Regions from separate parts of the Homo sapiens genome. Here regions 1 and 2 are each linked to region 3. The links are contacts of gene promoters, found by promoter capture Hi-C in blood cells and fetal thymus (Javierre and others, 2016). All regions are on one chromosome and are shown on one strand. Each heading gives the region's core, a stretch centred on a gene start or on the middle of the fragment in contact. The rest is flanking DNA. Distances are from core to core; before and after follow the strand shown. Region 1 holds the start of IRAG2 (inositol 1,4,5-triphosphate receptor associated 2). Region 2 overlaps DNAI7 (dynein axonemal intermediate chain 7). Region 3 holds the start of TM7SF3 (transmembrane 7 superfamily member 3).

Region 1 (2,779 bases), core at 62-2,561, 2.0 Mb before region 3:
ACAAACAAACAAACAAAAAAAAACAGTTACAGAGTTTTCTCAAAATATTAAAAATTAAACTACCATCTGATCTAGGAACCCCACTTCTGGGTATTTATCCAAAATAATTAAAATCAGCACCTGGAAGAGCTATTTGCATTCCCATATTCACTGCGGCATTATTCTCAATAGCCAAGATTTGGAAACAACCTGAATGTCCACGGATGATTGGATAAAGAAAATTTGGTATATAAATACAAGGGAATATTATCCAACCTTTAAAAAGAAGGAAATTCTGCCACATATGACAACATAGATAAACCTGGAGGACACTATCCCAAGTAAAATAAGTGAGTCACAGAACAACAAATACTGCACGATCCCACTTCTCTGAGGTATCTAAAATAGTTAAACTAATAGAAAGAGAGAGAATAGTGGTTGCCAGGAGCTAGGGGAGGGGAAATGAGGAGTTGCTACTCAATAGGTATAAAGTTTCAGTTATGCAAGATGAAGATGTTCTAGAGATCTGCTGTACAACATTATGCCTGTAGTTAATAATACTGTATTGTACACTTAAAAATTTGTTAAGTGGGTAAATCTCCTGTTAAATGTTCCTGCCACAGTTAAAGAAAAAGAGAGAAAAAGAGAGTGAGAGAGACAACGATAAGCTATTGAAGGACGCTCAGTGGAAAGTGTGGTGATGTAGGCAGTTTTTATTTTTGCTTAGGATTTTGTTTGCTTGTTTACCAGTATGGTAAGCATTCTGTGAGACCATTCTTGCCTCTCATGTGGTCCTTCGTGTAACCAGGGCTGGATTTGTGCCAGTGTGCAGTGGCATTCTGACTAAATGTTAACGTTTGAGAGGCATGCACAAGGCCTACGGCTGACAATGTCTTCCTTGCTGTTTTGCAACTCCCGACATTTATCACCACTTTGAGTTAAGGTCCATATTCAAGTCAGATTGTTTCCAGATAATCATTGAGGTACTGGCATGTAACACACATTAAATAATCTCATCTGCTAACAGAGAGTAAGTGCATTTTTACATGTTTTAGAGATTAGAATTGGATCCAAATGAGGTGTAACGTAATGGCACCATGAGATCTGTGGTGGGGAAGGGTGATGGGGAGAAAAGCTTCAGCAAAAAGAGGACTAAAGTAGAAATATCAACCGCCAGCTTTCATCTGTGCCTGGGGGCGGTCCTTCCTGTGCTCGTGGCACGTGTTTATACTATGATTGACAACCCTTAAGGAGAAAGGCTAAGGTCATGAAACAAAGCTCTCTTTCCTTTTCTTTTCCCTCCCCCTACCTTTACCCCATTCCTTTCTTTTTCTGTAAAAGCTAGCTGTGATGTGTAAATGTTGCACCTGTCACCCTGACCTCATTGTAGAGCCATCTTCTGAGTAACTGGCAACTGGCAACTGATGCTAAGTGCTATGAATGCAGCTGGTGGGAACTGAACACACCAGTGTAAAAGATGAAACTAGAAGTCCTTATCTGTAAAGTGAGGGTGTCAGGCTAAGCGACCAATAAGCTTTGCTTAAGATTTTATATTTGTGAAGCATTTATATGTAAATACTTTCACTTTTTCCTCTGATCTCTAAGGAAGTGGTGTTAAGTTTGAGTTTGTCATAATTTCACAGGGTGACTCTTAGTTGAAATGTCACTGACAGCTTGCGGTTTGGACTTTTTTTTTTTTTTTTTTTTTTAACTCCAGTCAGAAACAACTAGAAGCCATTAAACAACTACAGGAAGATGCTGTCAACCAGGAAGGCATCCTTAGGAAGAGGCTCCAAGAAACCAGCCAACGGCTGGAGGATGTGGAGGAGCAGGTAGGGTGGCTCATGGCTACATTAGATTCAGGGGACATCTCCTCAGATGCCCTGCAAACCATGAAATAAAAATGGAGGAGGAACAACAACAACAAACAAAAAAAAAAAGCAAAGAGGAACTGCAAGTTCAGTCCCTAGCGACTAACAGTGAGCAGAGGAAGTAAAGGGGGAGTTGTAAGAGAGGCGGTATCAACAGCCTGCTGATGAAAGAGGCGACTCTGCAGAAAGAGGCAACTTGACATATCAGGACTTTAACCGCTGTAGAAATAGCTCAGGCATACCAAGCCCATGCAAACACAGAATTGCAGAAGTTCAGGAGAGGCTTATCACTTCCCTGAGAAGAAAAACACATTTTCAGTTTTGCCTGCATCATAAGAGTGAGCACTCCATTGCTTTCTTTCCTGGCCACACTGCTACAATCCAGCACTAACTATCCATGTCCAGGGTAAGGATCGAGATCGAGAAGCCCACACTGCCAGTGAAAAAGCTACGTCTTTACTGCATAAATTAGAGGAAGCAATTTCGGAACAACGGAACCTTCAAACTATAAATACTGAATTATCGAACACTTGCCAGGCACTTCAGCAGAAGACAAGGAAACTGAAGAGTGAGTAGCAAATATTCATTTATGACCCAGTTTTTGTCCACCCTCAGGCGGGGCATAGGACTACAGACATTTTTCTAGATTACAGCTAGGATATTATTCCTGAGTTTATGACAATGAAATGGTTTGAGAAGGCAATATTGTGGGGCTTTCAGAGAGGTTTGCTGAGTGGCTAGGTGCATGCATGGGTTTAACCATTAACTTCCCTTTTTGCCTTTTTATTATAAGCTGGTTTTGTCTGTGGCTGTTTTTTTCTTTTAAAATTAATTAAAACTTCTCAAAATTTCTAAAAGTAAACAAGGAGAAAAATCTAGTATGCATGGTATATTTGAACTTGCAAGTTGTTATATATTATACTCTGATT
Region 2 (2,777 bases), core at 217-2,716, 1.8 Mb before region 3:
TAATTCCCTCATATATTGTTTTTAAAAGATGCAATTTTAATGTCCTGAACTCAATACCATTTATATTTTAGTGTCAGCACTGAATGTTCCATGAAAACCAGGACTCACTCTTTGGCCACTGAAGCCTGTTTGTGATGACAGTGTTCCTAAATGAAAATAGAATTTAAAGTACAGACTATAGCAATAAGCACCCCCCTTTTGCCCATTCATTACAGTCCCATTCCTGGGGGTAGTTGAGCATGATTTCAATCAAATAAAATACAATCAATTCAAATAAAGTATTAAAAGTTTTGTAAAATCTCTTCACAGTTGTATTCCTAAACAGTAATTTGAACATCAAATTTGTATTAATAATGCCATTTTCTTCATTGGAAGAAAAGTCATAAATTATTAACTGAGACTAACTGGAATCATCTATATATTCATCAATTTGTAAGGCAATTCTTCTCATAGTCTAATCACTGTTTTCTGTATTTCATGTATTCTGTGAAGTACAGTGGTTTCTGATAAAAATATATTAATATAAATGTAGTGATGGGTTTTTTAACAGTACATCAGGTATCATAACCTTTTCTATAGTCTTACGCAATTTTCTAACTTTTGCAATGAACAATATTAATTTAAATTACGTGAAGTTTCAAAAGGCAACTTTGAAATCTGCGTAAAAATATTACACTCACATTTTTACTAATACACTAATCTTTCTTCATTAAAAAATTAATTACATTATCTTTGTAGTCTGGTACCAAAACATTATTATCAAATGATAGTACCAAAAAAATCTCTCACAATGTAACTTGATACACTCTTTGGTACCATAATTTGATAATAATCTCATGGGCAATGTAACTAAACAAAAATGATCACCACTTCACACTACCATGTGTATAAATTCACAATATCTCAGTACTTCTAATGACACATTTCACCACTTCCAAAAAGACAGGTAAGGCAGACAAAAACAGGAAGTCCTTAGTGTCTGATGTTAGCTTTGCCAACATCAATGTTTCGAATTGTCTAAAGGTTTCACATCCCAGTCCCAAGGGCAAAGAATCACAGAATGGGAGTAGATAACAGATAAGCTTTACTTTGTAAGAAGGGTGATTGTGACAGAGGAGGATGCAATGGTAAAAAGGCAGGGTTTTTTTTTTAATGTATGACTACATTTTCTCAGGAAAAGGTAAATATGGAAGTCAATCATCTGAAGATTGATTTCCATAAGACTGTGTCCTTGTATCCTTAGAAAACCTTTGTACACCTGTCAGAGTATGATTTACTTCTCAGTTTGAAGACTTCTAACCTACACTGCTGTGATGGATTCCTAAAGGGTACCCCTACTTTTACCCTTGTGTCCCCCTACAGTGAATTTTCCACATGGCAATCAAAGTGATCTTTTAAAAATGTAAATCAGATCATGCCACTTTTCTGTTTACAACTTTCCCAGGCTGCCCATCACACTCACAATAAAACCCAAATACTTTACCATGGCTTACTTGGCCATGAACTACAAACCGGCTCCTGATTAACCACGGTCTCCATGCCGTGTTTTTATCTTTCACTTTCTACCTCACTGTCTGTTCTAACCACACTGGCATTTCACCAAGGTCATTCTAAACTATGTCTGTTTCTCCTGCTTAATATACTCATTCCCCCAGGTAATTACTAACCTACTCCCTTGCTTCATCCAGGTCTCTTCTTAAATTTTACTTCCTTAATCATATTATATGAAATAGCATCATCATCAGCCCTACCCCACATTTTTTCATGACCTCTTAGTTTCTATGTATTAAAAGCTACCTGAAATTATATTATTTATATTCCTGTCTCACTTCCCACCCTCAAGTTGAATGTAAGCTTCATGAAGGCAGGAACTTGGTCTTGCTGCTGTTCACTTAATGCCTTGAACACTGCTAAATCAATGAAATAAATATTCTTCCATGTTTGCAAGAACTTATATATAAGGATCTTCATTCCTGCCTTGATTGTGATAGCAAAAAATAGGGCCAACATAAAAATCATGTAGCATACTTTCAATGAGATATGATGCAGCCATGAAAAAGAGTGAGGTAATTTCAATACGCCAAAACAAAAAGGTCCCCAAGGTATACTTACTCCATTGAACCTAAGATGTCATCAGATGTAAGATGTATTTATTATGTCCCAAAAAAGGAAATAATGCCTAAGATGGCAGTTAAAGGCGATACCTGTATAAAACTGGATATAGGGAAAGACAAACAATCCCACAACACAGTAATGCAGAGCAAAAAAAAAAGAAGGCTTGCATATGTCAACTCTGACACTGGTAGAAGGAAGAAAAAAAATTCCTGAGAATTTAAACCACAAGCCGGTTCATGTGGATTTGCAGTCTGACTCATACCATTGGTGTGGTCCAAAACCCTCAAGCATAGAATTTAAGTAGTACCAGACTGGTAATAAGCCCAACTGACAGATAGAAGCAAACATCTTCTGTTGAAGAAGTGGATGTCAATCCAGGACTACAATGATTGTAAGATACTATTATAAGACACATCTCAATTTCAGTAATGTTAAAATGTAAAAAGATTAGTATCCTATAATTAATAAAATATTGTTAAGTGAAAAACAGAAGGTGCAGAATGCTCCCATAGGCAGGGAGAAAAGGGGTCTCTGTGTGTGTACATATGTGCGCCCTTTAATGTTTAGAAAATTTATGAAAAGATGTACAGTGGTTCTAGGAAGGCAGATCAAATGTCTTGGGTTGAAGAAAAGTTTCAATTTTTTAATGCTATTTTAATTTT
Region 3 (3,012 bases), core at 178-2,677:
CACTGCACTCCAGCCTAGGCGACAGAGCGAGACTCCGTCAAAAAAAAAAAAAAAAAAAGTCACCTGAAATCATCAAAAATGGTGTACTCATAGGGAGCCAAGCCCGGGCATGTTGCTTCTTGGCTCCCACAGGTGAATTTGAAGTGGCAATAGAACTTCGTTGATTCTTGTTTTTCTCATTTTAGTTTTACTCTCTATTAAATTGTTATTTTTTACAGTTCATTTATGGATGACAAGTTATTTCCTGTTGGTAGCTGCAATGATTGGGAATTTTGTGATCTCTGTAAACGAATTAATATCTCATAGAGATCTATTTCCTGTTGGATATGAGACAACAGAGAACACAGTTTTTGTCCATTTGTCTTTTTTAAGGTCAAATCGATTAGAAATTTCTTGCCCTCAAGTAAGGAGAACAACTCTGATACCTGGACTGGCAAGCTTTTGTGTTTCTGTGTTTATTTTTCATTTGTGGCTGAACTTGTAGAATTGAGGGTATACACATTCTATCTGTATGTCTATGTATCTGTAATTCAGAAAGTCCTTTATTTCTCATTGTGAGTATGGAATGTTTTCCTGTCTCCAGATGGTATTAATAAATTAGATGGTAAAGGCTCTTTAAAAATAAAGCCTCATTATGGGTTCATTTTCCCTCTCAAACTCTGTAGAACATAACCAGTTTGAAAAGCCTCTAGATTTGGGGGTGTAAAAATTCCATGCAGCTTGAGAGCCATCAGTCATTAAGCCGCTAGTTCCACCCCAAGTCTTGCTGTCCAGAAGCTCAGACAGTCCACTGGGCAGCAAAGAGGCGCTTTAGTAAGTTGAATTAAAGCCACAAACATGGCTGCTCCCTAAGGGAGATAATACTGTGTTAAAAAAAGAGAATTATTTATCTCTTCCCATTTCCTCCGCTAAATGAGGAGGTTAATAGTAAGACCTCCTTAGCCATGAGTGTTTCCGCTGCAGGAAACACCATTCGTGCCGGTTCTGGACTCACCACCCAGCGTGTACCAACGCCCCCAGCACCATCTCCCTGCTAGGCTGACAGACCCCTGGCGGATTTTGACCTCGCAAGAAATGCAAAAGCAACTTTGGGTTGCAGAAGCCAGGCGCCCCGACCTTACCCTCGCTGGAATTCCCGAAGACCTCGGCTGCACCAGCCACCCGGTGTTCGGATGCCAGCACCGCTACGACCAGCAGCTGCAGGAACCCCATTGCTGCCTGGGCCGGGCTGGGCCCACGCCAGGGCTGGGGAGAGGTGCGGGCGTGCGCGCCGGGGCCCCGCAGCCTCGCCCACGCTATCCCGGGGCGCCCGCATCGGGCGCCATCGCCCGCCAGGTGCAGACGCTTCGCACCTGCCAGCTCCGCAGCCGCCGGCGCGCGCCCCGCCGAACTCCTAGCCCCAGCGAGAGGTTTCCTCTTCCGGCACCTGACCCCCAACGCGCGTTCCCGCGCCTCCTCCCGGGCTCTCGCTGCGTCACAGCGGCGGGTCTCTGGGCGCGGGCGGCGCTGGGGCGTTTCCAGGCAGCGCGCGCCTCCTGCCGGCGCGCGGGGAACGCGCAGCCTGCGGTGCTCCCGGGAGCCCCCAGGAAGTCCTGGCTTGAGGCCCGGTCTTGCCCCACTTTTATCTCACCAAGTAGGCAAACCCACTGTGAAAGTACAAAATAACTTTCTGTTGCGGACTAACGTCGCCAGGCTCCTGTTTCCGTGTTTAACGGCCCTTTACAACAGCAAAAAAGAGGAATCAGTTGCTAAAAACACAATTGAAGGTTATTTCCCCCGGTAGCAATTGTCTTCGCTGCTGAGGCTTATGTTAGCATAAAAATGCCAGGAGAATGCTGTTTGTGTAGTGGTTACCGCACTAGTCATAAGCACTACATTTAAAAGTAGTTTCGTTTTCTCTAAGCGAAATATCCTCGAAGACACGGCCTTGGTCTGAACTTCGTCTCAAGTCTCATACCTGAGTGCTGTTTGAGGGACAGTAGTCCATGTGACAGATGGCTCATCGATGATGTGGAATTAGACGCATAGACTTAACGTTATTTGGGGAGGATTGTCTTGCTTTCCTTCCCTGGTTTTAATTTTTTTCACTTATATATTTTGATGAGCAACTTATAGCTTGGAAATTACATGTTCAGTTAGTCCACTACTAAGCTAACAATATATAGCTGTGACCATAATGTGAAGAAGTGTTAAAGACAAAATTATTCAATGATACTTGTTAAAGCACCGAACGAAGACTATTGAGGACTGTCTCAATTGGCATAGGGACCACTGCAACTGGGTCTTGCAGTGGGGAAGAGGGACTGGGCTCAACTCCGAATACAGCGTGGGCAAGAGGGAATTTATAGCCAACCAGCAGTATGGAGTTCAGTGGATGGAAAATTACTAAGAGGAAGCATCAGAGGTAAGGGGCATTTGGTGAAACTGACCTAACAGGACTTCTGAAGACATAACATCACCTGGGGGATGGTGCAGGGTGAGAAAACTGATTAGATATGGAGGAAAGGGGGTTCTTTGCTAAAACTGGATTTTTACAAAGAAGTGCACAGATGGACCTAGCAGAAGATTCAGAAGCCGTACTAGAGTTTGGCCAAGCAAATAATCTTTGTCATAGGCACAATTCTTTCTCTGCTTTCCCACTGCCTGGTCCAAATTTTCACACCTTTGGTAGCACTATCTATTTCTGTAGTGCTTATTCACTCTCCCACATGCCCCTATTCCTATAACCCTCAGTAGATGAAATCCAAGGAAGATGAAAGGGACAATTATGATAAGGGTAGCATCTGAATCAGTGGATGGATTATTCAATAAATTGTGTTCTTAACTGATTAGCTGCACTATGGGCAGAGAGAAGCAGAACTCTATCTCACACTAATTGTGAAAACAAAATCCCAAAGTAATAAAACCATAAAAGAGCTAGCAGAAGAGGGCGCTCTTTTTTTTTTTTAATAAATTGATCTCAAAATGGGAGGAGCTTTCTAAGAAGCAAAACAGCAAAGGAAACAACCATAA

What was found. Contacts are between HindIII fragments. The CHiCAGO score rates a contact against its expected background, and 5 or more counts as called.
Region 1: a fragment that was not itself captured here is called in contact with the fragment with the promoter of TM7SF3 in region 3 in 2 of 17 cell types (fetal thymus and non-activated CD4 T cells); the score reaches 9.5 in fetal thymus.
Region 2: a fragment that was not itself captured here is called in contact with the fragment with the promoter of TM7SF3 in region 3 in 3 of 17 cell types (naive CD8 T cells, total CD8 T cells and non-activated CD4 T cells); the score reaches 9.6 in naive CD8 T cells.

Annotation. Positions count from the first base shown.
Region 1 is chr12:25,050,539-25,053,317 of GRCh38, forward strand. IRAG2 (inositol 1,4,5-triphosphate receptor associated 2) reads left to right here and starts at 2,168. Exons shown (of 22, transcript NM_001366544.2): 1 at 2,168-2,418. RefSeq lists enhancers at 1,523-1,632, 1,673-2,042. The HindIII fragment of the contact is 399 bases long and covers 1,113-1,511 here.
Region 2 is chr12:25,185,641-25,188,417 of GRCh38, forward strand. All of the region lies in intron 2 of DNAI7 (dynein axonemal intermediate chain 7), which reads right to left. Among named protein-coding and RNA genes, the nearest start is that of DNAI7, 8.1 kb to the right of the region's middle. The HindIII fragment of the contact is 772 bases long and covers 1,081-1,852 here.
Region 3 is chr12:27,012,957-27,015,968 of GRCh38, forward strand. TM7SF3 (transmembrane 7 superfamily member 3) reads right to left here and starts at 1,428. Exons shown (of 12, transcript NM_016551.3): 1 at 1,122-1,428. The coding sequence starts at 1,212. RefSeq lists a silencer at 1,121-1,620. The HindIII fragment of the contact is 5,016 bases long and covers 437-3,012 here.